Linked DNA regions of Homo sapiens: all the other regions are linked to region 2. The links are contacts of gene promoters, found by promoter capture Hi-C in human tissues and cell types (Jung and others, 2019). All regions are on one chromosome and are shown on one strand. Each heading gives the region's core, a stretch centred on a gene start or on the middle of the fragment in contact. The rest is flanking DNA. Distances are from core to core; before and after follow the strand shown.

What was found. The method cuts DNA at HindIII sites, captures the fragments that hold promoters and counts their contacts. A contact is called where the count stands out against the background at its distance.
Region 1: a fragment that was not itself captured here is called in contact with the fragment with the promoter of CCDC74B in region 2 in 1 of the 25 tissues and cell types used here (dorsolateral prefrontal cortex).
Region 3: a fragment that was not itself captured here is called in contact with the fragment with the promoter of CCDC74B in region 2 in 1 of the 25 tissues and cell types used here (lymphoblastoid cells).
Region 4: a fragment that was not itself captured here is called in contact with the fragment with the promoter of CCDC74B in region 2 in 1 of the 25 tissues and cell types used here (lymphoblastoid cells).

What each region holds. Positions count from the first base shown.
Region 1 is chr2:131,539,920-131,547,532 of GRCh38, forward strand. No RefSeq gene overlaps it. Among named protein-coding and RNA genes, the nearest start is that of CCDC74A, 16 kb to the left of the region's middle. RefSeq lists enhancers at 3,283-3,784, 3,785-4,284. The HindIII fragment of the contact is 9,764 bases long and covers 1-6,560 here.
Region 2 is chr2:130,142,721-130,149,662 of GRCh38, forward strand. It overlaps CCDC74B (coiled-coil domain containing 74B), which reads right to left and starts at 2,392. Exons shown (of 8, transcript NM_001258307.2): 1 at 2,027-2,392; 2 at 549-593. The coding sequence starts at 2,276. RefSeq lists an enhancer at 428-507. The HindIII fragment of the contact is 11,101 bases long and covers 1-6,942 here.
Region 3 is chr2:131,578,621-131,585,690 of GRCh38, forward strand. No RefSeq gene overlaps it. Among named protein-coding and RNA genes, the nearest start is that of CCDC74A, 54 kb to the left of the region's middle. The HindIII fragment of the contact is 3,126 bases long and covers 1-2,813 here.
Region 4 is chr2:131,555,845-131,562,711 of GRCh38, forward strand. No RefSeq gene overlaps it. Among named protein-coding and RNA genes, the nearest start is that of CCDC74A, 31 kb to the left of the region's middle. The HindIII fragment of the contact is 3,687 bases long and covers 1-3,643 here.

The sequences.
Region 1 (7,613 bases), core at 429-2,928, 1.4 Mb after region 2:
AAGTGATAAATTTCTGGACACATAACAAATTCCCAAGATAGAATGATAAACAAAAAACCGGAACAGATCAATAATGAGTAATGTAATCAAAGCAGTAATAAAGTCTTCTGTCAAACAAAAACACAAGAATCACGGTTTTACTGCTGAATTCTACCAAACGTTTTTAAAAGCGCTAATACCAATTTTACTCAAAATATTCCCCAAAAAATGAAGACAAAGTAAGTCTTCGAAACTTGTTCTATGAGGAGAGCATGACCCTGGTACAAAAACCAGACCAGGAAACAACACAAAAAGAAAACCACAGGCATTTTAAATATCCCTGATGAACACAGATGCAAAAAAATCCTCAGCAAAATACTTGAAAATTGCACTTGACAACACAATAAAAAGATGATCTGCCATGATCAAGTGGGATTCATCCCAGGAATATGAGGATGATTCAATAAAACACAAATAAATAAATGTGCGACATCACATTCAGCGAATCAAGAACAAAAACCATATAATCATTTCAGTAGATGCTGAAAAAATAAAAAAACATTCCTTCATGACAAAAACTGAACAACATGAGTACAGAAGGAACATATCTCAGTGCAATAAAGGCCATATATGACAAACCCACAGCTAACATCATAATCAATGGGGAAAGGTTAAAACTCTTCCTCTAAGGCCTGGAACGAGTGTGGCTACTTTTACACCACTTTTATTCATCATAGTACTGGAAGTCCTAGGTAGCGCAATTAGACAAGAGAATGCAATAAAAGGCATCCAAATTGGAAAAAAGAAAGTCAAGCTCTCTCTGTTTGCAGGTGACATGATCATATATATATATACACATAGAGAAACAGAGAACCCTAAAGATTCCACAAAATCACCTACTAGAAATAATTTAGTCAAGTTGCAAGATACAATATCAACATATAAAAATGAGTAGCACACTCATGCACCAATAATGAAATACCTAAGAAATGAAGACAGCTATTTCATTACCAAAATAATTATATCTAGGGATAAACTTAACCAAAAAGACAAAAGATCCCACAATGAAAACTATAAAACACAGATGAAAGCTATTAAAGCAGACACAAGTAAATGGAAAGATATCCCATGTCCATGCACTAGAAGAATATTGTTAAAATATCTATATCACCCAATGTGATCTAGAGTCAATGCAATCCATGTTAAATTACAAAAGACATTCTTCATAGAAATAGAAAAAAATATCCTAAAATTCACATGGAAAAGCAAAATATCTCAGATAGACAAAAGAATCTGGAATAAAAAGAAAAGCTGGAGGCATCACACCTGACTTCAAAACATACTACAAATCTGTAGTAAGCATGGTAATACCAAAACAGCATAATACTATCAAAAAAAGGGGCGGGGGAGAAACAGAGAAACGAAGGAATGACAGACATAGACAAGTGAAACAGAATAGAGAAATCAGAAATAAATTCACGCATTTATGGTGTACTCATTTTTAACAAAGGCACCAAGAACACACATTCGGGAAGGAAGGACAATCTCTTCAATAAACTGCTAGGATAACTCAACACCCACATGTACAGGAATACATCTAGGCCGTTATCTTACCATATACAAAAATCTACTCAAAATAAAGATTTAAATGTAGGACCTGAAACTATAAAACTACTAGAGAAGAAAACATAGGATAAATCCTTCATGAAACTGGTTAGGACAAGGAATTTTCAAATAGACATCAAAAGCACAAGCAACAAAAGCAAAGATGTAATTACATTAAACTTGTCAAAAGCACAATCAACAAAAGCAAAGATGTAATTACATAAAACTTAAAAACTTCTGCAAAGCACAGGAAGAAATCAGTAGAACGAAGAAACAACCCAGAGAATAGAAGAAAGTATTTGCAAACTATCCATCAGCCAAGGGGTTAATACACAAAATATATAAATAACTACTCAAAAGCAAAAATACAAATAATCTGATTTAAAAAAATCTACCCCAAATCTTTGTCTCCCACCATTATTTTCCCACCTTCTTTTCCCGACCGCCTTTGGCCTCCTCCCCCTCGCCACCCGTTTTCTTCCTCCATCTACCCCAAAACTTTTTCCCCACCATCATTTTGCAAAGCCTTCTCTGCTCTCTCACTCACCACCCTTTTCCCCATCCATTTACCCAAACACTTTCCCCACTGGTTTTTCCCACCGTCTTTTCCCCTTCTCCCTGGCCACGTTCTTTTTCCCCATCCCACTCTCATCACCCTCTTTTGCTCCTTCATCTAAGCAACAACGTTTTCTCCCGTCTTTTCCCAAAGCCTTCTCCTCACTCCTGCCGCTCAACACTGTCTTTTCGCCCTTCATCTACCCAAAAACTGTTTTCCTCATCGTCTTTTCCCCCCGTTCCTCCTTGCCACTTCTCCATCTACCCGAAAACATTTCCCCATAGTCTTTTCGCAAAGCCTTCTCCCCACTCCTGCTCACCTCCCTCTTTTCTCTCTCCATCTATCCCCCAGAATATTCCCCACCGTCTTTTCAGTCTTCCCCCCTTCCCATTCATCCTCTTCTTTGCCCTATCCTGCTTGCCACTCTCTTTTTTACCTTCCATCTACCCCAAACTACTTTCCCATTTTTTCCCAACTCTCTTTCCCTGCTCCCTCTCATCACCCTCTTTCCTCCTCCTCGTTACCCTCTTTCCCCCCTCCATCTACCCAAACACTTTTTACCCACTGTCTTTTTTTTCTCCACCGTCTTTCTTTCCTGCCCACTATCTTTTTGCAAAACCTTGTCTTTCTCCCGCTGGCTACCCTTTTCCCTTCCCCCACCTGTTACCCTCTTTTCCCCCTCTATCTTCCCAAAACCTTTTCTCCCCACTGTCTTTTCACAAAACCTTCTCTCCCTACTGCTCAACGCTGTTTCTCCCCCCGACCATCCTCTCTTTCCTCCTCCCCTTGACACCCTCTTTTCCTCCTCCATCTACCCATAAACTTTTTACCCACCATCTTTCTGCAACACCTTCCCTCCTTCGCGCTCCCCACCCTGTTTTTCCCCCACCATCTACCCAAAAACTTTTTTTCCCACCATCTTTTCCCCACCGTCTTTTTGCAACGCGTTCTCCTGCTCGCTAACTTCTTTTCCCTTTGGGACTAACCACCCTCTTTACCCCCTCCATCTATCCCAAAACTATTTTCCTCTTCTTACCGCTCCCGCCGCACTGCCATCTCGGTCGCGGTCACCACCAGTTGCAGCGAGGCGAACCACAGTGGAGCGGCTCCAGCCTCCAATTACCCATTCCCGGTCCTCTAAGCCGGTCACTGAGCAGCTCCATAAGAAAGTACGGGAACCTGGAAGGGCCTGCCTTCCCTTCGGGAGCATTCATATACTGAGGTTATATATATATATGAGGGTTCCTGGACTGCATGTTCTGATTGGATGAGAAAAACCCTCCAGGGTTACTCTGATTGGACTTTATTATCATGTTCTGATTGGATGAGAGCAAGTCTTGAGACAACCAATCACAGCATGAAAATAAAGTCCAATCAGAGTAGGCCTAGAGGTTTTTTCTCTCATCCAATCAGAACATGTAGTCCAGGAACTGCATGTGCGCGACCTCAGTACGTAAAGCATGCTGAGGCGGTGTCAGGTCATTTTAGGCTCTTCAGTTTCGCGTTTGGTATCCGGCATGGCTGCCACCTGTTTCTGGCTGGAGCCTCGGACACTGGCTCACTGCAGTTGGTGGTGTCGACAGAGCGGTAGGAGGGCGGCGGGCAGCAGGAGCTTCTCCTGCTGGGCAGGAAGACGAGTAGAAGGGAGCGGCACCGAGGCATGCTGGAGGCTGGAGCCTGAGCCACCCCGGCTCGCCTCGCTGCGGTTGGTGGTGACCTCGGACACTGCAGCTCGGCCAGAGTGGTAGAAATGTCCTGGTGTAGGTGAGTCAGCTGGGGATGCACTGCCCGCATGTGGGGGCAGGGGTTGGGTGTCCTATTGGGGCTCACTCCCCGAGGCTGCACTGCCTGTGTCAGGGGGCTGGTTGGGGGCACTCTCCGAGGTTGCATTGCTGGCGGTGGGGGTGCGGTGTTGGCTGGCTATCTGGGGCTACACTGCCCACGGTGGCGGGGGTGGTGGGCGGGGGAGGCAGGTTGTGTGCACTAACGTGTACTGCTGGTGGCGGGGGATGGGTTAGGGGCGCTATTTTCTGCTGCACTGCCCAGGGCAAGGAGTGGGTTGGGTGGTTATTCGGAGCTACGATGCTGGTAGTGGGGGGTGGTTTAGGAGTGTTGTCAGGTGTTGCACTGCCCTTGCTCAGGGTGCACTATCAGGAGCTCCCCTACCCGTGGCGGGGTGGGGGCGGCGATTTTGGGGCACTGTCTTGTGCAGCAACACCTGTGGCTGGGTCAGGTTGTGGGCACTATCGGGTGCTACACTGCCTGTGGAGGGGGTGGTTGGGGGGGTATTGGGGTTACACTGCCTGCAGCTGGCACAGGGTGTGTTGGGTGTGCTGTCCGAGGGCTACACTGCCGGCGGCAGGGGTCAGGTTAGGGTTGCTATGGGGGCTATACTGCCAGTGGTGTTGGTCGGCTGCAGAGGTGGTGGGGACAGCAACAGCCATGGTCTCCTTGCTCCTTCGGGTGACTCTTCTCCTTTCCGTACTCCAGACTCTAGAGGGTGATCTCTTCCTGCTCGTGCAATCTTGAGCATGGCAGGACCCCCACACCCACTGCGGTTCTCCGGCCTGCACCTCCCGCCCACACCCCATGCTCTGTGTTGGGGAGACCACCTGGGACTACCGGGTGGGGATTAGTGGGCATCGCGGGGGACTGTGGGAACAGGGCACTGTGGGTGGAGGTGTCAGGAACGGGAACCAGCAGTTGAGTGGGGAGGGCTGGCTGGGTCTGAGTTTCTCCTACTCCTGCTCCCCAAGGAGTGCAGCCCTGGTGGGCCCAGCAATTTCTGGCCAGTTGCACCTGGATGGGGGTGGTTTCAGCATAGGCACTCACACCCGCCCCAGTTCCTGGCCACCTTTTGCCAGAAAGAGAGGCTGGACTTCGGTGGGTGGGTGTGAGTGCCTTAGCTGAAGCTGGTCCCTGCCACCCAGTGGCCAGCATGACAAGGTGAGGCTCTAACGTTACCACTCCCTGCATCCCATTCTAGGCTTTTCTGGCTTTGCCCGTCTAGCTGCTCCAAGCCAGGCTGGAGGAGGAGGAGAAGGAATCACCTGTGGTACGCTGGAGCCTGCATGTGGCGTGACTCTGCAGCTCGCCTCATGTGATTGGTGGCAGCCACAGAGACTGCAGCTCGACAGGAGTGGTAGGAGGGTGCCTGCGGGGGCAAGGTGGTAGGAACCTTGTAGGGTGGGCTGCTGCATTGACGGCGACAGCAATTGTATTGGCATTGGTGCTAGTGGTGGTAGTGGCAGCAAGTCTGGGGGCCGGGAAGGGGGAGTAGGAGCGCTGCAGGGCCCAGCCCAACCTGGGGTGGGGAGGAACCTGCGGGTGCTGTACCATGGGCCTCGGTGGCAGTGGTGGAGGTGCACTTAGGGAAAGGGGTCCTCCCCCTTCTTTTGCAGTCTCTGGAGAGTGCCCTCCTTCTGAGCTAGGCGTGAGGGGCAGCATTGTCTCATTCTTAACAAAGTTTAGGGGGTCACAGTGTGTGTGTGTGTGTGTGTGTGTGTGTGTGTGTTTTCCTTTTCTTTTGAGACAGAGTCTTGCTCTTTTGCCCAGGCTGGAGTGCAGTGGCGCGATCTTGGCTCACTGCAAGCTCCGCTTCCTGGGTTCATGCCATCCTCCTGCCTCAGCCTCCCTAGTAGCTGGGACTACAGGTGCCTGCCACCATGCCCAGCTAATTTTATTTTTGTATTTTTAGTAGAGACGGGGTTTCACAGTGTTAGCCAGGATAGTCTAGATCTCCTGACCTCATGATCCACCCACCTTGGCCTCCCAAAGTGCTAGGATTACAGGCGTGAGCCACTGCACCCGGCCATTTTTTCCTTCTTTTTTGTTGTGATAGTCTTGGACTTTTTCAAATTTCGTGAATTGGGGAGGGGATAAAAGGTGTCATTATAGGCCTTCTAATTCCTGCACCTGTTCTTTTTGCTTTTCCTAGTTTGTATATTCTTCTCATCTTCTTGTTCCTCTTCATTTTCTTTTGCTGCTGCTTCTATTTCATGTTTCTATTCTTGTTTCTCCTCCTCTTTTTGTTTTCTTTATGCCAAGCAATGGCCTTAACAAACAACAAGCCAAAATTGTCATTGTGTTGTATTTTTAAAATAACTGGTCCCTTACTGTGTTTTAGGGATGAGAAAAAAAATCAGTTGTATAATTAGTTACTTGAATAGCTATGCTTTCATGATCTTGTTAACCCGCTTATGCTTAGCGTTCCAATAATGTTCCATTATTGGAACACTAAGCATGAGGGAGTTACTTACATCCTACTGCTCAAGGTCATTGACAAGGTCTGATTATTCACTCAGGCAAAAATTCAAAAAATTACAGCCTCTGGCATAAATGGGGTAATGCATTGTAAGTAGTTATTCAGAGAATCAAAAAATGAAGCATCACATAAAATATTGGTAGCAAACAGCCATTTCATCTCTCTCACATATTTGGAGCTATGCAAGAGTCACGGGGTAAGTTCTAATTTATGAGATTATTAAGTGAACTGTATTGCCTTCATTTTCTCTGCCACCATTTCCTTTGTTTTCTTTCTTTTTTTTTTTTTTTTGAGATGGAGTTTTGCTCTTGTTGCCCAGGCTGGAGTGCAATGGGGCGATCTCGGCTCACTGCAATCTCCGCCTCCCGGGTTCAAGCAAGTCTCCTGCATCAGCCTCCCCAGTAACTGGGATTGTAGGCATGCACCACCATGCCCAGCTAACTTTGTGTTTTTAGTAGAGATGGGGTTTCTCTGTGTTGGTCAGGCTGGTCTTGAACTCCCGACCTCAAGTGATCCACCTGCCTCAGCTTCCCAAGTGCTGGGATTGGACGTGTGAGCCACCACACCTGGCTCTCTGCCACCACTTTCAAGAGTATTGTCATCTGCCTGAGCAAACCTGGTTCATCACCACCTCTTTGCAAGAGAAAAAGAAGTGGGGAGAATCCTGTGTAATTTTTTTCTTTCTTTTTTTTTTTGAGATGAAGTCTCATTCTTTTCCCCCAGGCTGGAGTACGATGGCTCGATCTTGGCTCACTGCAACCCCCGCCTCCTGGGTGAAAGCAGTTCTTCTGCCTTGGCCCCCTGAGTAGCTGGGATTATAGGTGCCTGCCACCACACCCGGCTAATTTTTGTATTTTTAGTAGAGATGGGGTTTCACCATGTTGGCCAGGCTGGTCTAGAACACCTGACCTCAGGTGATCCACCCACCGTGGCCTCCCAAAGTGCTGGGATTAGAGGCATGAGCCACTGCGCCCGGCCATGTATGTTTTAAGGCAAAGATTCACAACCAAAAAACAAGGCTTTATTAACTTCTGTATCTAGGAACTTGCAGTGTTGAGCCCTCTTTTATTCCTAGTATTACTACTTTCGGTGTGAACTTTTTATCTTTATTTTACTGATTCCTCTAGAAGTTTATGCATTTTCTTGACTGCTTTAAAGACAATCTATATTGTCTCATTTTTCAAGCCCATAGAAATGTGTAAGGCCTAT
Region 2 (6,942 bases), core at 1,142-3,641:
GGGCTGGGTGGGGGCCGCTGTCAGGATGGGGAAGTGCCTTGGACAAGTGGCAAGGAAACAGGACTCTGCTTCCTCCCTTTGTCCCCATGGTTGCTGCCCAGATGGCAGGAAGGGATCCCTGGATGGAGTGTGTCCAGAGCCCCTGGGCCCCCAGCATGTCAGGACTCAGAGCCATAGGGCTGGAGATCCTGGGCCTGGCCACAGCAGCAATCTGAGGCAAAGATCTAGCAGGGCAGGGGCTGTCCCAGGGGTTCCTTCCCATTTCAGCTCTACTTGGAGGAGGGAGGTCTGGGGAGCACCCTGTGCCCACCTCCCCACTGCAATGACCTCAGGCCCTGGGCTTCCTGAGAGCAGCACGTGCTGTGCTTGGCTGCGTAACATCATCCAGCCACGGCTAGAGGTAGCGGCATCTGTCCAGGTCCCCCAGAACCTGTCCCCACTGGGTTGGCATACAGGGGCCAGTGCAGCCAGGTGGGCAAGGACAGTCTGGAGGGGCTCCCCTGGGTGGCAAGAGCATCCCATCAGGAACTGAAGGGCCCAGTTCTCACCTTTCTTCTGTGATGTCTGATTCATTATGAGCTTGTAACGGAGATCTGAAAGCAAGCACACGCTCTCCTCAGCACTTGTGAAACCACAGCCATTCTGAGAGAAGAAGCCTGGCCTGTCCTCTCCTGGCTGCTGAGCCCGAAAGTCCTGCCCCCCCACTGGCTGATTGGGCCCTGCCCCATGGATCCCGCTCTCCACCATGCCTTTGTCGTGGGTGTCAGGCCAGGAGTGGCCCCTGCCTGTTCCCTAGGCAGAGCCCACCTGGCATATCAGCCTCATCCATCTGAGATGACTGGAGGGCGTCCACACTGCCAGGCAGAACCTGGGCTTTAGGGGTACAGAGGTGAACTCTGGAATCCCTGGCTATGGCGGTGTCATGATCCCGTGGGCATCAGGGACTGGGGGGAGGCTCAAGAAGATATGAGGAACGGGGCGTCCTGAGGCTCAAGAAGACATGGGGAAGCGGGGTCCTGACAAAACAGACGCCTGGTGATGGGATACTCGGCACTCAGGTAAGGCAGCAGCAGGGAACGGGGCGGGAGAGGAGGCCGCGGGCACTGGTGCCCTTGCTGGAGCCCTCCTGAAGCAAGAGCGAGGAGCGGAGCCACATCCCACATCCTGGCGGGCCCTCCTCCTGCTCGGGGCAGGAGGGGTGGGGGAGGAGGGAGGGAGAAAGGGGGGCGTGGGGGTGAGGAGCAGCTAAGGGTGCAGTTGGGAAGGCCCCGCCGGAGGACAGCATGGGCACAGGCGAAGCGGGGACGGGGTGGGGGGCGGGGGAATGCCTGCTCCTGATCCGATGTGTTTAGCTGGAAGAAATTCACTGAGCTGCGCACTCGCACTTGGGCACGTTTCCCTGCATAAAGTTTTTGTTTGTTTGTTTTTGTTTTTTTTGAGACGGAGTCTCGCTCTGTCACCGAGGCTGGAGTGCAGTGGCAAGATCTCGGCTCACTGCAAGCTCCGCCTCCCGGGTTCACGCCATTCTCCTGCCTCAGCCTCCCGAGTAGCTGGGACTACAGACGCCCACCACCACACCCAGCTAACTTTTTGTATTTTTAGTAGAGACGGGGTTTCACCGTGTTAGCCAGGATGGTCTCGATCTCCTGACCTCGCGATCCGCCCGTCTCGGTCTCCCAAAGTGCTGGAATTACAGGCGTGAGCCGCCGCGCCCGGGCCCCTCTATAAAGTTTTTAACAGAGGTGTGTCTGACCCTGCTTGGAGAGGAGAGGACTGGCGGAGTCAGCATCTGAAATGCTGCTGCCCTAGGAGACAGGCAGACAGGTTCGGCACTGCCCGGGGGCCACGCGGGTCTCCCTCTGGGAGGAGGGGACAGCTCAGCGTGGCAGGGCGGGCTTACCGTCCTGTGTTCCCCCTGAGCCCAGGCGTGTGCTGGAGTTGATGGCTGTGTTTCTGTGCTGCGGGAGCGGCAGTGTTGAGTGTGCCTGGGGAGGCAGGGCCGGCCTAGGGCCCCGCGCCGGCTCACCCTTGTTTTCCCGCTTCAGATGCTCGATCTCCTCATGGAGCTTGGCCAGCATCTCCGAGTGCTGCTGCTGCAGGAACTGTAGGCTCTTCTCCAGGTCCAGGTTCCGTTTCTGCGGGTCGCTCTGCCTGAGCTGCGGGCTCTGCGGCCTCAAGGACTGGACGCCCACAGAGGGGCGCTGGCGCCGGCGCCGAGAGCCCGGGGTCGGCGAGCTGGGGGGCCGCGTCCCAGCCGCCACCCCCGCACCGCTCATATCGCCATCGCCAGGTACTCTCCCGCTGCCACTGCACCCCGGCTCAGTGGCCAGGCCGCCCTAGCCTGGCGCCCCGTCACCATGGAAACCGGGCGACGGAGGGCGCCAGGCGTTTGGCGGGGGCGGGGCCTGTCGCTGGCTCTTCCTGGGTGAGTAGTGATTTACAAGGCATCCAGGGCTGGGCGCCGGGGCTCACGCCTGTAATCCCCGAACTTTGGGAGGCCGAGGCGGACGGATCACTTGAGGTCAGGAGTTCCTGACCAGCCTGACCAACATGGCGAAACCCCGACTCTACTAAAAATACAAAATTTAGCCGGGCGTAGTGGCGGGAGCCAGTAATCCCAGCTACTCCGGAGGCTAAGGCAGGAGAATAGCTTGAACCGGGAGGCAGAGGTTGCAGTGAGCCGAGATCGCACCGCTGCACTCCAACCTGGGCGACAGAGACTCTATCTAAAATAATAATAATAATAATAATAATAATAATAATAATAATAAAAGGCATCCTTTCCAGCCTGGATGGAAAGTGAGCCCCTGTCTCTATAAAAATTAAAAGAAAAAAAACCCGGGCATGGTGGCTTGCGCCTGTAGTCCCAACTGCTCGGGAGGCTGAGGTGGGAGGATTGCTGGAACCCCGGAGGTCGAGGCTGCAGTGAGCTATGATGGCACCACTGAACTCCAGCCTAAGTGACAGAGTGAGATGCTGCCTAAAAATAAGAGGCCGGGCGCAGTGGTTCACACCTGTAATCCCAGCTACTCCGGAGGCTGAGGCAGGAGAATCACTTGAACCCAGGAGGTGGAGGTTGCAGTGAGCCAAGATCGCGCCATTGCACTCCAGCCTGGGCGACAGGGTGGGATTCTGTCTCAAAAAAAAAAAAAATAATAAATAAATAAATAAATTTAAAAATAATAAAAATAAAAAGTCTTTTTTTTTTTTACAAGGCCTGCCCTCAAAAAAAAAAAAAATCACAGCCAGGCCAATCATAATTTTGCCAGACACCAACAAACCTGGAGGAAGGGAACATAGCTAACCCCAGCCTGCTCTGGCTCTCCTTCCCCACATCTTACTGCCACATCAGCGGGGCTCCTGTATAATAACAGGGGATACAAGTGAAAGAACTGCTCATCTCAGAGCTTATTCGAGAAATCTCTAGGAAACCGTAAAGACAACAGGGAGACAAAAACTAAGACACTAGAGGAGGTTTAAGCCTCTGACACCTCCAGTTAACAAACAGCACACATGGCACAACCCCTAACCAGACCAACATAAAACTTCACACAGAAAGTCCATTTACTGGTTGAGCATGACCAGCCCTCAACAAAAACTTGCAAGGCATAATAAAAAACAACACAGTTCGAAGACACAGCAAGCATCAGAGCCACACTTAAATATGGCAGAGATGTTGGAATTATCAGACCAAGAAATGGAATACGACTATGATTAATATGCTAAGGGCTCTAATGGAAAAAGTGGACAACATGAGATTACAGACTGATAATGGGAACAGAGAGGTAGACGTTCTAAGAAATAATCTAAAGAAAATGTGAAGGCCAGGCAGGGTGGCTCATGTCTGTAATCCCAGCACTTTGGGAGGCTGAGTTGGGCAGATCATTTGAGGTCAGGAGCTCAAGACCAGCCTGGCCAACATGGTGATACCCCATCTCTACTAAAAAATACAAAAATTAGCTAGTGTGGTGGCATGCACCTGTAATTCCAGCTACTTGGGAAGCTAAGGTGGGAGGATTGCTTGAATCCAGGAGGTGGAGGTTGCAGTGAGCCGAGATCATGCCACTGCCCTCAAGCCTGGGCAACAGAGTAAGACTCCATCTCAAAAAAAAAAAAAAGAAGAAGAAAAGAAAAGAAAATGTGAGAAGTTGGCCAGGCACAGTGGCTTACACCGCTAATCCCAACACTTTGGGAGGCCGAGGTGGGTGAATCACTTGAGGTCAGGAGTTCAAGACCAGCCTGGGCAACATGGTGAAAACCCATCTCTACTAAAAATACAAAAATTATTGGGAGGCCGAGGCGGGCGGATCATGAGGTCAGGAGATCGAGACCATCCTGGCTAACACGGTAAAACCCCATCTCTACTAAAATACAAAAAATTAGCCAGGCATGGTGGTGGGCGCCTGTGGTCCCAGCTACTCGGGAAGCTGAGGTAGAAGAATGGCGTGAACCCGGGAGGCGGAGCTTGCAGTGAGCCAAGATCATGCCACTGCACTCCAGCCTGGGCGACAGAACAAGACTCCATCTCAAAAAAAAAAAAAGAAAAAAGAAAGGCAGGCATGGTGGTGCATGTCTGTAATCCCAGCTACTCAGGAGGCCGAGGCCAAAGAATTGCTTGAACCCAGGAGGTGAAGTTTCCAGCAAGCTGAGATCCTGCCACTGCACTCCATCCCGAGCAACAGAGTGAGACTCCATCTCAAAAAACTAAAAGAAAATGTAAGAAGTCAAAAACACAACAGAAATGAAAACTCAGGTGCATGGCTGATGCCTGTAATCCCAGCACTTTGAGAGGCCAAAGCAGGAGCATCTCTTGAGCCCAAGAGTTAGAGACCAGCCTGGGCAATATAGCCAGACCCTGACTCCACAAAAAACTAAAAAGTTTGCCTGCATGGTGGTGCACACCTGCAGTCCCAGCTACTGAGAAGGCTGAGATGCAGCGAGCCGTGATTGCACCACTGCACTCCAGCTTGGGCAACACAGAGAGACCCTGTTTCAAAAAAAGAAGGAAAAAGATATAGGAAATTTGGATCTAAAAAAAGGGAAGTGCATTAGAGAAGGAATAAAGTAAAATAAAATATAATCTTTATTATTATTTTTAATAGATGACAGGTTGTTCAAAAAAATTATGGCAACATGTATTTAGTAATTATGGTTTATGGATAGCTGGAATGAATGGTAGCAATATTATTGCTGGGAGGGAGGATATCCTGAGTGGAGAGAAATTCATCCAGGCAGGAGTGCAGTGGCGCGATTATAGCTCACTTGCAGCCTGGAACTCCTGGGCTCAAGCCATCCTCCTGCCTCAGCTTCCCTAGTAACTGGGATTACAGGCACACACCACGCCTGGCTAATTTTTTTTTTTTTTTTTGTCTTGCTATGTTGCCCAGATTGGTCTCAAACCCCTGGGCTGAGGCAATCTTCCTCCCTCAGCCTCCAGAAGTGTTGAAATTACAGGTATGAGCCACTGTGCCTGGTATATGGTTGCTTTTGAATGTCCTAGTCCTAAACATCTGGTTCCCAAGAAGGAGAAAAGAAAAATGAAGGCAGGAGGAGGTGCTGATCCATAAAAACCTCCTGGAAGGTGTGTACCCAGGGAGGCAGTGAGGGTTGAGGAGGGACGTTGCAAACATAGCAGTGGAGATTGCAGCAGTGGCTGCCTGCCTCTTTGTCTGCATTTTCACAATCAACAGCAGCCATCATCAATCAGAGCACAGATCCCCAGTATTTGGAGGATGGGGCTCTTATTGCCCGCTCTGGTTCCTGCAAGCTATAGGGAAGCTACTCCAGAAATGCATGCATGGCTGCTTGCACCACCAATTTAAATGCCACTTTCTTCTGAAAACACCCTTACAGACCTGCCAGGAAATAATGTGTAACCAGATATGAGTGCATCCGGTGGCCCAGACAAGCTGACATATAGAATTAACCATCACAAGTCCACCCCTTGTCAACCTGGCACCCATACACATCTCCTTAAACCATACGCACTCTCCAAATAAACACAATAACCCAGTGTTATTGTGTTAGCAGTGGAAGGTGTCCGAGTTAATAGTGTTAGCAGTGGAAGGTGTCCAAGTCACTGGCAGTGAATCCGGATGGGTCTTCAGCAACCACAATTCTTGGCTCCTCAGAAGAAGGAATTCGACTGAGGGGCATAAGGCAGAAAAAGAGACCGAAGCAAGTTTCAGAGCAGGAGTGGAAGTGTATTTTAAAAGGCTTTAGAACAGGAAAGAAAGGAAAGTACGCTTGGAAGAGACCTAAGTGGGCACATGAAAGTCAAGTGTGGTGTTTAACCTTGATCCTAGGACTTTCTAGACTGGCCCCTTTCCCATGATCCTTCCCTTAGGGTGGGCTGCCCACATGTACAGTACCCTCCTTACCCTTGGGAGTTCCTAAACACATGCAGTGTGTTTAGGAAACTGTATGCATGCCCATCTGAGGTTTTTGGGTGGGGTGCCCCCCGAAGGTCATACTCCACCACTTTGTCTCTTAATGCACATGCCTGGGAAGTTGATTCTCCCTGGAATCTGCATTCAATTAACACTTTAGTGAAATAGGTGTGGCCCATCAGGAAATGGCCTGTCCCTGGCGCCAGCTGCCAATTTATCACTTTTTTTATTTATTTATTTTTTGAGAAGGAGTCTCTTGTCACCCAGGCTGGAGTACAGTGGTACGATCTCGGCTTACTGCAACCTCTACATCCCAGGTTCAAGCGATCTTCTTGCCTCAGCCTCCCAAGTAACTGAGATTAGAGGCATGCGCCACCACACTAGCTAATTTTTGTATTTTCAGTAGAGATGGGATTTCAGCATGTTGGCCAGGCTGGTCTCAAACTCCTGACGTCAAGTGATCTTCCTGCCTCAGCCTCCTAAAGTGCTGGGATTACAGGCATGAGCCACTGCGCCTGGCCAAAAGTAGGAATTCTTGACTGGGAAATAATTT
Region 3 (7,070 bases), core at 1-2,500, 1.4 Mb after region 2:
ATTTTTTCATGTGAATAGCACTTCCAAGAACACATCCATGCCTGTGTCATTTTGAAAGAAGGATTTATGATTTATTTTCCTTTGTGTAGATACCCAGTTATGCGATTGCTCATTTGGATGGTATTTCTAAGTTCTTTGAGGAACTTCCAAGCTACTTCTTATAGTGGGAGACTAGTTTTTATTCCTACCAAGAGTGTAGCAGTGTTTGCTTTCCTCTGCTGCCTTGCCACCATGTAAATGCTTGGACTTAGGACAAATGGCCATTCTGACCGACTTGAGATGGTATCTCAGTGTGCGTGTGAGTTGCATTTCTCTGATGATGAGTGATGTTGATGTTTTTTTCTTGTCTATTGGTCACTTGTACGTCTTTTTTTTTTTACAAGTATGTCTCCATGTCTTTTTGCCCATTGTTTGATTATTTGTTTTTCTGCCTCTTGATTTTTTTAAGGTCATGTTAGAGTCTGGCTATTAGACCTTGGTCAGAAGCGTAGTTTGGGAACATTTTCTCCCATCCTGTAGGCTATGTTTTTACTGTGCTGGTGATTTATTTTGCTATCTGGCAGTGTTTTAGTTTCTTAGGCCCAACTTGTCCATTTTGGTTTTTCTTGCTGTTGTTTTTAGGGACCAAGTCATCTAAATTCTTTACCAAAGCCTGTGTTGAGAAAGGTATTTCCTAGTTTTTCTTGTAGGACTTGTATAGTTTGCGGTCTTCTGCTGAAATCTTTCATTCACCTTGAGTTAGTTTTTGCATCTTGTGAGAGGTGAGGCTCCAGTGTTGTTCATCTGCAAGTGGCTAGACACTATCCCAGTGCCTTTCATCGCACAGTGAGCCCTTTCCACGTCTGAATTTTGGTGTTTCAAAGGTCAGATGGTTGCAGGTATGTGGGTTGCTTCTGGGTTTCCTATTCTGTCTAGGTGGAGGTGGGTCTGTAGCTTTTCTGTGAAATTTGAAATTGGAGATCGTGGTCCATCTGACATCGTCTGGATCTCCCAGCATGGCTTTGGAGTTTCAGAGCATTTCGTGGTCCCATGGGAATTTTAGCATTCATTGTTTCTTCACATTGCTTTCAAAAAACAAAATCGACCCATCCTAAAGGTGTACAAGTAGAGGGTAGAGTGGAATATTTGGATCCATGCATGCATCAGATAGTGATGAAATCAGGGTATATAGTGTCATTTTTTGCCTTGTAGAGTGTTCCTGTCTTTGAGTTGAGGAGAGCCAGAACTCTTCTTTCTGGCTGCCTTGAAAACTATCCTCTGGTAAAGTTTTCTCTAGTCACCCTGCTGAGGAATAGAACAGCAGGTTTCATTCCTCTTACGCAGCATGTCACTTTGTACCTGTTTCCTATCCCCACCCGTGCCCAGCCTTCTGTTCCAACCCTGGCAAGCACTGTGGTGCTTTGTAGGTCTATGTGAGATTAAAGGGTCTTAGATTCCCCATGAGTGAGGTAATGTGAGGTTTGTCTTTCTCTGCTTAGTATTTCATTTACCATAATGTGTGTTTCATTACCTAGTGTGTTTCATTTACCAGGTTCCACCATGTTGCCGCAGATGACATGATTTCAGTACCTGTGTCTGGCTGAAAAGTGTTTGTTTGTGAATGGATATTGTGGTTTCTGGATCTCATCCTCTGTGGGTGGACAGGTAGGTTGATTCCTTATCCTGGCTATTGCGACTGGTTCCACAGGCAGCATGGGAAGGCAGATGTGTCTTCTGTGTACTGATGACGTATGCTACCAGTGCACACCCAGTGGTAGCGCGGCTCAGTGAAATGGTCGTTGTATTTTTAGTTTTTAGAGGAACCTCCAGGTGGCCTCTGTAGTGTGCGCACTAATTTACCTTGTCAACAGTTGTGGACAAGAGAGCTCTCCTCTCTGGAAATTCACAGCAACATTTGTGGTTTCCCTTCTTTTAAGATATATGAAGTTCTTTGTAATACTCTTTCCTTTGAGAGGGACACGATATCTGAGTCTTGTTCTGATTTTCATTTTTCTTATGATTAGTGATATTAACTACTAGGTGTTAAGTACATTTGTTTTCAGTTTTAGGTGTTCTTTGCAGAAAAGACTCTTTGGTTTCTTTGCCCAATTTTGGTTTGCTAATTACCTTCTCTTTTCTGCTAGTTAGTAGTGTTAGTTACTTACACCTTTTCTAAAAAAAATCTCCTTAGCTGTGTTTTCCCCTATACCTTTCTTATCATCCGTTGGATGTTTGTTTCTTTTCATTCATTGTTTTCATTCTTTCTTTCCCCCAAGCCATATAGTCTGATGAGTCTGATGCAGATTCAGGGGTGTGCAGTGTTGTGGTTTTCCACTACATTGGTTACTGATGAAATAAAGGACATTCACTAGCATACCAATCTATTGTGAGTTTTGCTTGTTTGTTGTTTGTATTTTCTTTCCCCCATATTGTTTTCATTTTCCTTTTTGCAAATTGTAAGCATAGATCCAGGTTGGCCCAGGTATCCACACACCATATACTTTCTTCTCAGAGAGTGATAGTTTCAAGTTTTGGGTATAGGTCTTTCATTCATGTTGAATAGATGATTGTGAATTTCACACAATAAGGACCCTATGTTGTTATTTTGCCTAGGGATATCCAGTTCTCAGAACGCTGTATTGGACAGACTCTCCCTTCTTGTGGTGACGTTTGTGGTTCTTTCTAAACATGTGCTTAGGCTATACCAATTTGAACTTACTCCTAGGCACCTTCATTGTGTCCCCTGGTCTGTGTTTCTCTGCTAAGGCCTATCACAAATCATCTGGGTAACTAAAGCTTTGGGAAGTAATTTAAAGTGGAAGCATGTGATGGCTCCACCGAGTTTGTGTGTGTAGGAATCTGGGTAACTAAAGCTTTGGGAAGTAGGTTAAAGTGGAAGAGTGTGATGGCTCCACCGACTGTGTGTGTAGGAACTGCTTTGGGAGTGCGCGGCACTTCATTGTCCCACAGGACTTTCAGAAATATGTTGTGATCCTATTTGAAAACAAAAATTTCACATGGTCTATGCTTTTACTTTAAGGGCGCAAGGGACCATTTGACATATGGATCAGTGCTGTTGTGATCAAATTACAGGACCTCGTGTCTCTGTTTCAGGCTATAGTGAGGATTTCTTGGTGGAGAGAGTATCCCGATCACCCCTTCCCGCTATATTGAATATCATGCTAGGAGACTGTTAAGCCTAGTCACCCTGCTAAGCTGTAGAACACCAGAATTCTTGCCATTCATCTGAGCGTCACTTTGTAGCTGTTTCCAAGCCTCCCCTCAGCCTCTGGTACCCACTATTGACGTTGCTCCTTTGTGAGATGCATTTCATTAGATTCCATGCGCGTGAGATCGTGCTGTGTTTGTGTTTGTCTTCCTCTGCCTGGCTCATTTCCTTTGACTTAATGTCCTTCAGCTTTCTCCACCTTGCTGGAAGTGACCTGCTGTCCAGAAGTTTGATGGCTGAGGAGTATACCATCGTGCATGCATCTTTCATTTCCTGCATTTCTTCCTCCCTGGATGGACAGGTAGGTTACTTCCATACCCTGGTTATTGTCCGGAGTACTTCATCAAACACGGGAAGGCAAATATCTCCTTAAGTTACAAGGTTCCTTGGCTTTGCTGGTATACCCAATGTTGGGATGGCTACGGGAACTGGTAGTTGTATTGTTGTTTCAGAAACCTCCTGCTGTCTCTCCCAGTGGGTATACAAATTTGCATTCCTACCAATAGTGTGTGAGAGTTTCTCTGTCTGCAAATCTACACTGCCCTTATCTTCAAAAGGTTTTATTGCTGTTCCTGGTCATACTCGTTCTCTGGGGAGTTTGGCAGTATCTGAGTGTGGTTGGGATTTGCATTTAGGGGATGATTACTGATGTGGAGGAACTTCTATTACCCGCGAGTCTGTTGCAGGTTTTTTCAGAAATGCCTATGCCAGTCTTTTGGGCAATTTTAGCATGTGTATTGGTTTTTGTGTTTTTGTCCACTTGGGACCATTAGTTTCTTGAATATATCAGATAAGAAGCCCTTCCAGATCCACAGTTTTCCATAATTTTCTCCCAGTCTGTGGGATGTCTTCTGTTGGGTTCACTGTTTTCTCTCCAGTGTTGAAGCTATGTGAAGCTCTGAAGTTGTCCTTAGTCTCACATGGTCACATTAGCTTTTGTTAGCGGTGATTTCTGTGTCCCTTTGAGAAGAAAAGCAAGATGGCGAAGCCATTGTATGGTCTATGGGTATTTGATTCCTATGTGTTTTCTGTTTGTGGCTTAGGTGCACAGGTTCAAGTTTTCCCACACTAGACATGCACCCTATGTGTTTTCCTTGGAGGTTTTGGTTTCACAATTGCCCTTTAGTGTTCAGTGGATTTTGTGTCGCTTTTTGTGTCTTGTGTAAGGGAAGGGTTTATTTCAGTCCTTTGCATGTGACCCCCCAGTTTCTTCAACCATTGTGCTTTTGGTGTGCTTTTGGGGGAAAAGCAAGAATCCTATGGATTCAGTGTTTATAATTGTGGGCTGATTATTTGGCTCCTTCGTTGTGTCCATTTGGTTATCTTTCTGTGTTCATGCCACTAATGGATGGATTGGGCCACTGTAGGCTTTTTCTTTCGTTTTGTGTGTTTTTTTGTATTTTCTTCCTTTTTTTCTATTTCTATTTCCAAAACTGGGTTTTCTAAAATGATAGCTACTTTTATTGTGATCGAGGGGTGGACGCCTGCAGGTTCATTTCACTACATGGCTATATAGCAGACTTTGTATGCTTGAGGTCCTAGCGTACCCATCACCCAGGCGGTGAACACAGCACCAGTTGGATCATTCTTCCTCCAAGGCTTCCTGTCTCCCTCCTTTTTCTGTCTGGTAGTACCCAGCATCTGTTGATTTCATCTTTACGTTCGTGTGTATTCGGTGTTGAGTTTCTGCCTGTAAGTGAAAACCTGCGGTGTTTGGTCTTCTGCTCTTGCCTGAGTTCGCTTAGCAGAGTGGCCTGCAGTTCTGTCTGTGTTGATGCTGTGGGCATGATTTTGTTTCTGTGTTTGATTTTCCTTGGTGGCTTCTTAGTATTCTGTGGTGTATAGGTATCACATTTAAAAACATCTCATTTTCTGTTGTTGGGCATCTAGGTCAGGTCCACGTCTTTATTCCTGTGAGTAGCACTCCCGTGAACATGCAAATGTCTGTGTCTTTTTGATAGACACATGTATTTTTCCCTTGGGTGGATACACAGGGTTGGATTGCTGGGTCGAAGGGTATCTCTGCTTCCTTTCCCTCTTTGTTGTTGTTGTTGAGAAATCTTGAAACTGCTCTCCACAGTTTGAGACCTAGTTTGCATTACCCCAAGAGTGTAGCTGTGTTTGCTTTTATCTACTGCTACACAAATATGTTTTGTGTTTGGACAAATGGCCATTCTGACTGGTGTGTGATGGCACTGGTACCTCATCTCTGATGATTAGGGATGTTGAGCATTTTCTCCTGTCTGTTGGTCTTTTTTAAGTCTTGTTTTGACTAGTGTGTTTGTGTCATTTGCCCATTTTTTACTTGTGTTATTTTTCTGCTTCTTGATTTAGGTAAGGTCCTCTAGATTCTGGCTTTAGAACTTGGTCAGATGCTTGGTTTGGGAACATTTTCTCCCATCATGTAGGCTGTGTGTTTACTGTGTTGGCAGTTGCTTTGCTGTCCAGCAGGTCTGTAGTTTCTTCGGCCAGACTTGTACTTTTTGTTTTTTCTTGCATTTCTTTTGGGTACTAAATTGTCTAAGTGGTTTGCAAAAGCCTATGTTGAGAAAGGTGTTTGATAGGTTGTCTGTTAGGACTTTTATATTTGAAGTCTTCTATTTCAATCTTTGGTTGATCTTGAGTTAATTTTCCATATGATGAGAAGCAGGGCTGCAGTGTTAATTCTCCTGCACATGGCTAGTCATGTATCTGAGCGCCATTCGTTGCATAGTGAGCCTTTTCTTTATTTCTTATTTCTGTGGTTTTGTCAAAGGTCAGATGGTTGTAGTTCTGCCAGGCTACTTCTGCATTTTCTAACTTGTCTAGGTGAAAGCTAGGTCATTTTTTTCTGTTATGATCTATTTTGATTTCTTGGGTTCAAGAACTGATAAATAAATTTTAGAAACTGAAGAACCCACTTACTTTCTCAAGGTTAGAAACCATCACCATCACCGTATTCTGTGATGTTATGGGCTTTATTGAGTTATATCTTTGCCCTTTTCCTTCAAGTCTCTCCTCTGGATTTATTTTGTGAAATTAGATTCTGAATCCCATTTTGTTGCATAAACTGTGCTTGAGCAAAAAAAAGTTTTTCTTTTTTTTTCTAAAAACATCCTTAGTATACATGGGGTGAAGAACAACAAACCTGTCTCCTCTTTCCACTAGTCACACCATTACACTCCTTTCCAGCCTCTTTGCTGCTACATGTGGCCATTCAAATGAGCCCTGGCTAAGTACATGTGGATAGAAGTTAATGTTCGCTTCTTGCAAGCCTGGCCTGTGATTCTGTGTTGTGATTTAGAACATAAAGAAGAAGTGAGACTTGCTGAATGAGACTCTTGAACGCTTCCTCTGACAAGCTCCAAGGCACACTGGTTGTCTTGCAGTGCTTTGGACAGCTACTCGTTTGTTGGACAATAATTTCCCAACATGGGGACAACCCAGAGCATTTTCCACTTCCATATTCTGCTTCAGTTGCTCATGGTTTTGATCGAAGCTAGACAGTGACTGAACCAGGAGGCTCAGACCCCAGGCCAGCGTGGAGTCCTGTGGTTGAAGACAGGCTGGACCATCAGAGGAAGAAAACAAGTAGCCCTTTTTTCTGGATTTTCACCTTCTCTGTTTTCAGGAAACCTGAAGCCAATTATGTTATGCAGGCATGACTGAAAAGAGATTATTTTGAGTTGTTTTGGTGGCACCAAGAAATGTGCCAATGTGACAGCCAAAAAAGCAGAAAGACCAAGGCATTGAGAGTGGGAGAGCCACTGATGATGCTGGGTCTGGTAGGCTTTTCGAGATCTCTCCCAGCCCCAAAACAGCCAAGCAACTCTGTCCTGGGTTGTGAGTGGGCTCAGCCGCCCCTGTGCACACCCATGCTTGG
Region 4 (6,867 bases), core at 550-3,049, 1.4 Mb after region 2:
AGTCATTGTATTGTGTATAGGTATTTTGCCTGTGAGTCCATGTGGTATTTGGTTTTCTGTTACTGTGTTAGTTTGCTTAGCATAGTGACCTGCAGATCCATCCTTATTGCTGCCAAAGCCATTAAGTTTTTTTAAGCTATGTAGGTTGTTGTGGTATCTATGTACAGCACTTTTAAAACATGTAATCTCGATGTTATTTTATATTTCCATGTGAATAACACTTCCAAGAACATACCCATGCCTGTGTCATTTTGAAAGGAGGATTTATGATTTGTTTTCCTTTGTGTAGATACCCAGTTATGCGATTGCTCATTTGGATGGTAGTTCTAAGTTCTTTGAGGAACCTCCAAACCACTTCTCATAGTGTGAGAACTAGTTTTTATTCCCAAGAGTGTAGCGGGGTTTGCTTTCCTCCACTGCCTTGCCACCATGTAAATATTTGGACTTAGGACAAATGGCCATTCTGACCGATGTGAGATGATATCTCTGTTCGTGAGAGTTGCATTTCTCTGATGATGAGTGATGTTGAGGTGTTTGTTCATGTTCTCTACCCATTGTTTGAATGGTTTGTTTTTCTGCCTCTTAATTTTTTTAAGGTCATGTTAGAGTCTGGCTATTAGACCTTGGTGAGAAGCATAGTTTGGGAACATTTTCTCCCATCCTGTAGCCTGTGTGTTTACTGTGCCGGTGATGTATTTTGCTATCTGGCAGTGTTATAGTTTCTTAGGCCCAGCTTGTCCTTTTGGTTTTTCTTGCTGTTGCTTTTTGTCTAAATGCTTTCCAAAGTCCGTATTGAGAAAGATATGTCCTAGGTTTCCTTGTAGGACTTTTAATAGTTTGAGGTCTTCTGCTGAAATGTTTCATTGACCTTGGGTTAGTTTTTGCATCTGATGAGAGTTAAGGCTCCAGTGTTGTTTATCTGCATGTGTCTAGCCACCTAGCCCAGTGCCCTTCACTGCATAGCGAGCCTTTTGTCCATCTGACCTTTGGTGTTTCAGCATGGCTTTGGAGTTTCAGGGCATTTTGTGGTCCCACGGGAATTTTAGCATTGTTTCTCTATGTTGCTTTCAAGAAACAAAATTAGCCCTGTCCTAAAGATGGACAACTAGAGGGTCGAGAGGGACATTTGGGTCCATGCATGCATCGTATAGGGATGAAATCATGGTATTTAGCGTCATTTTTTGCCTTGTAGAGTTTTCATGTCTTTGAGTAAGGAGAGCGAGAACCCTCCTTTCTGGCTGTCTTGAAAACTACCCTTTGGTAAAGTTTTCCATAATCATCCTGCTGAGGAATAGAAAAGCAGGTTTCATTCCTCTTACGCAACGTGTCACTTTGTACCTGTTTCCTATGCCCACCCATGCCCAGCCTTCTGTTCCAACCCTGGCAAGCACAATGGTGCTTTGTAGGTCTGTGTGAGATAAAGTTTCCTAGATTCCTCATGAGTGAGGTGATGCGAGGTTTGTCTTTCCCTGCCTAGTGTGTTTCATTTACCATAATGTCCTCCAGGTTCCACAGTGTTGCCACGGATGACCTGATTTCAGTACCCGTGTCTGGCTGTAGAGTATCTGGTCGTGACTGGATACTGCAGTTTCTGGATCTCATCCTCTGGGGGTGGACAGGTAGGTTGATTCCTTATCTTGGCTATTGCGACTGGTTCCGCAGTCAGCGTGGGAAGGCAGATGTGTCTTCCGTGTACTGATTCATGTGATTCCAGTAGCAGCACAGCTCAGTGAAATGGTTGTCATATTTTCAGTTTTCTGAGGAACCTCCTGCCTCTGTAGTGTGCGTACCAATTTACCTGTTAACAGTTGTGGATAAGAGAGCTCTCCTCTTTGGAAATTCACAGCAGCATTTTGTGGTTTCCCTTCTTTTAAGATACATGAAGGTCTTTGTTATACTCATTCCACCGAGAGAGACACAGTATCTGAGTCTTGTTCTGATTTTCATTTTTGTCATGATTAGTGATGTTAACCAGGTGTTAACAAGCATACTTGTTTTCAGTTTTATGTGTTCTTTGCAGAAAAGCCTCTTTGGTTTCTTTATCCAGTTTTGGTTTGGTAATTAATTTCTGTTTTCTGGTGTTTTTTGCTAGTTAGTAATGTTAGTTACTTACACCTTTTCCAAAAAATGCCTCATCAGCTGTGTTTTTCTCCAAACGCTTCTTATGATCCTTTGTATGTTTCTTTCTTTTCATTCATGTTTTTCATTCTTTCTTGCCCACAAGCCATGTAGTCTGATGCAGTTTCAGGTGTGTGCAGTGTTCTGGTTTTCCGTTATGTTGGTGACTGATGAAGTTAAAGAAATTCACTAGCATATGCTTCTAGGATGGTAGAGAGCAGTTTACAGCCTGAGACCCATCGCTAGGTAAGAAACTGGTTTTGGATTCTGTCTTGCAAATTCCTTTTAAAGAATAAAGTTAACATTTAACAACCAGCTGGTGTTAATTTGTGCTTACACTTAGAGTGCTCAGAAATCATAATTTGTGTGACCATTGTTAGTTTAGCAGCATTTTGTCCTCGCTGAAATATGGTAATAAGATTAAAAGAGTTTTGTTTAAAGGAGCACAATTGTGTAAAAGCTTAATTAAAAGGGTAACATCCAGATGTGTGTGCATGTGTGTGTGTTTGTATTTGGAAGACCTTCATGTTTTTGTTTTTGTTCTGTTTGTTTTACTCTTCTAAGACCTTGTCTTTTTGTTGTTGTTGAGCAAATGTGTTTATTTTATTTTTTGTCTTTTTCTTCTCAGTTGACTGAATTCTGTTTTCACTTGATTTTTTTTTTTGACTAAAATAGTTATTGCAACAGAGGCTACTACTCTTGGGTTTTTAAGGAAGAGTGTAGTTTAATTTGGCTCGAAGAAAAATATTAGTGTCTTCCTGTAGCACCATCGGACTCTTACTTTCTGTGCTTTATGAAGTAAATTTTGCTATTGGATTTTCACCTGAGTTGTTTCCTTTAATGTTTCAATTTAAGGCTGTTTAGTTTGACAGCTGCCTAGGGTTGTGAAACAAGTTATCAAGAATCTGAAAGTCTGAGAGAGAAAAAAAGGGCGGAGGTCTTTAAATCTATAAAATGTACTGTGACAGCCCAATGCATTCACCTTGCCCGCTGCCTAGACAGAACCGATTTATCAAGACAGAGGAACTGCAGTGGAGAAGGAGTAACTCACGCAGAGCCGGCTGTGTGGCAGACCCAAGTTTATTACTCAAATCGGTCTCCCCGAGCATTCGGGGATCAGAGTTTTTAAAGATATTTGGTGGGTAGGGGCTTGGGAATTGGGGATTAGTCAGGTTGGAGATGGAATCATAGGGGGTTGAAGTTAGCTTTTCTTGCTGTCTTCTATTCATGGGTATGATGGCACAACTGGTTGGGCCAGATTACCGGCCTGGGCAGGGTCTGCAACACATAACAAGCCCTGATCTTAGGTTTTACAGTAGTGATGTGATGTTACCTGCAGGAGTTAGGGGAGGTTCAGACTTTCGGAGCCAGAGACTGCATGACCCCTAAACTGTACATTCTAATCTTGTAGCTAATATGTTAGTCCTGCAAAGGCAGACTGCTCCCCAGGCAAGAAGGGGTTCTTTTCAGGAAAGAGCTATTACCAATTTGCTTTCAGAGTCGAACCGTGGACCAAATTCCTTCCCAAAGTTAGTTGAACTTACACCCAGGAATGAACAAGGACAGCTTAAGGGTTAGAAGCAAGATAGAGTCGGTTAGGTCTGATTTCTTTCACTGTCATAATTTCATTAGTTATAATTTTGTAAAGGCGGTTTCAGTACTTCCATCGATATGCCTAACAGATTTTTATATGTATTTGTGTGTTGTATACAGGATGTTCCACTACCAAAAATATATGAAAGAGCTCTAATTAATTGGCTTAAAGAAAAATAAAAGTACTTAAGTTAGATACTAAAAAAGACTAGTCAAATGGTTTTTCAACTTTATGTAACTTAAGTAAAATCTTTAATAAGCTAGCTTTAAAATTATTGTAAAACAATATTAGAAATGTCTTAAGAATTGGCAGCATACATTTTTGTTTACATTTAGTAATCAACCGATTTCATACATATTCCTGCCAGATACTATAAGGTGTCAAAATTTGGCATGGGGGGGTTTCAAAACTATAAACTCAGCCCAAAATGGAATGATCTTTACTTGAGTAATTTTTAATAAGTAAGACATTGATATGGGTTTAATAAAAATAGCTGCATGTTGAATTTAGTAAGATTACTAGCACTTCTAATCCTGTGGCTTTTGGCAGTCTAGTCCACAGACAGTAAGGAAAGGACTGTTACTGCCTTTGTTTCAAAGCTAAAGTATAAACCAGGTTCCTCCCAGTGTCAGTTCGGCCTATGTGCAGGAATGAACAAAGACGGTTTGGAGGTTATGAGCAAGATGGAGCCAGTTAGGCCAAATCTTTTTTCACTGTCTCAGTTATAATTTTGCAGTGGTGGTTTCATAACTTTAAATCATGACTATCACAGATTTCATAAATAATCTAGGTAAACAATTAGGTAAATGTAGTGGGATAAGTACTTGTAGACAAACGTCATAATTTAGAATATAAAGTAAAATTAAATAATAGATATTTCATTATTTGGGTATTTTCCAATAAACATATTGTAGGAAAACATTCTTGCCAAAAAAAGTGTGTCTTCTTTTCTAAAAAAAAAAAAAAAAAGTTGAACAAGTTTTGTGTAATTCAAAGCTTATTTAAAGTTATGTATAAAACAAGGTAAAAGGAACCAGGAAATAAAAAAAAGCTGTAAAGAAAGTTGTAAAGAGGTTGTTTTTGAGGTAAAAAGAGCTTAAAGAGAAATACTATTACCTAAGAAAGAATCCCGTCTAGTAAGTTTAGTCCTAAAATAAAATACTTGGTTGTTTAAAAAGAGGGGGTGTTCAGAATAAATCAGAAAGTCTGACCATGTCGTAAACAGTCAGTGTAAAGTCACAACAAGGATTTATATGTTTAAAAAACCCAAAAACTTCTATATGATAAAGTTGTCATATTAAGTTTTGGTTTGCTTAGGAAAAAAAACCTGAGATTTTTTAAAAATTGAGGTCATTACATCCATGTGTCTTCCTGTATATGCTTTTAAAATCCTTGCAACATTGAGTTACAGGGCTTTTAACTCCTAGGTCTAAAAAGGACACTAAGTCCTGCTAATCTTAAACACCCACAGCAATTAAAGGCTCATCTTCAGGCCCCATAGAAGATGCCAATTCAAATAAACTGCTGCATTCCTGAGACACAGGGCAAGAAATGATGAAAGCTATTCAACTCCTCAAGACCCAGGGACTATTGTGAAAGAGGTGGGAGCATAAGATTGTAAGGGCCGATTTTGAAAAATAAAGTAGGTTCAGTTTCTCTATGCATTACTTATTAATGTCAAAGGCACACTGATGCAAAACCAGTATATGGACGCTTGTGTCAGATTAACAAGGTTTTCTTGAAGCATTAACCAACTGCTTAGTACAGGTTATAAAAGGCTGATGGAATTATATTTTGTAATCAAGATTACATTTTATAGATTGTTTACAAAATTTTTTTTTTAAGTTTTTTTTATTATACTTTAAGTTTTAGGGTACATGTGCACATTGTGCAGGTTAGTTACATATGTATACATGTGCCATGCTGGTGTGCTGCACCCACTAACTCGTCATCTAGCATTAGGTATATCTCCCAATGCTATCCCTCCCCCCTCCCCCCACCCCACCACAGTCCCCAGAGTGTGATATTCCCCTTCCTGTGTCCATGTGATCTCATTGTACAATTCCCACCTATGAGTGAGAATATGCGGTGTTTGGTTTTTTGTTCTTGTGATAGTTTACTGAGAATGATGATTTCCAATTTCATCCATGTCCCTACAAAGGACATGAACTCATCATTTTTTATGGCTGCATGGTATTCCATGGTGTATATGTGCCACATTTTCTTAATCCAGTCTATCATTGTTGGACATTTGGGTTGGTTCCAAGTCTTTGCTATTGTGAATAATGCCGCAAACAAATGTAATTGGCTTCATGCTGTTTTTAAAAAATTCTTAAATTATCACTTTGGTTAAATAAATGACTTTACAATGACCTGTAATCCTATTTTTAACATCAAGTGTTTTAAACATTTTATATTTGACAAACTTCCCAAAATCAAATTATATATTATGTCTTTTTCTATCCTAAGTAATCCTTTAAGACATTAGGTTCTCTAAAGTCTAAAAATGACATAATTTGGCTTACCTGCTATAAAATGTTTGGAAACATTGTCAAATATGAAATGGTGTTTGGCTTTCTTTCAGATCCATTTGTATATGTTTTTGGTATGTTTCCAAAATGATGGGAAACTCCTGTAATTCTGATATAACTTAGTGTACATTATTTGTAATAATCATAATTGTTATGTTAAAATCATTGTGTGCCACGGAGGTAACAAATTCACTTGTCAATTGTGTCTTTTAACTATGGCTGCCTTAAATTTTTTTTCATCCACAGGTAATTGTCTTGTTTTGTCTCGTTTTAAACCCTCTTTATAAGGTGGGTTTATAATCAGCTATAGGACTCTAACAGGTGCACTTAAGTTCAGGTTTTCTGATAATTTTGGAAATTGTTACACTGGAATAAAGCAAAAAATTTCAAAATTCTCATGGAGAGCTGAAATGTTCATGACTATCAAACAGAACAGGAGTTAACTGAGATAACTGAACCAATAGAAAACTGAAGTTATCTTTTTGACTTTTTGCTTAAAACATTGCTAATACTTTTAGTTTTTCAGAGTTAAGGAAACTTTTATTTACAGCTTTTAACAATAAATTATTGTATATTCCTGTGAACAAAATTTGGAGCATATTTGTTTTTCTCTACCTAATTTCT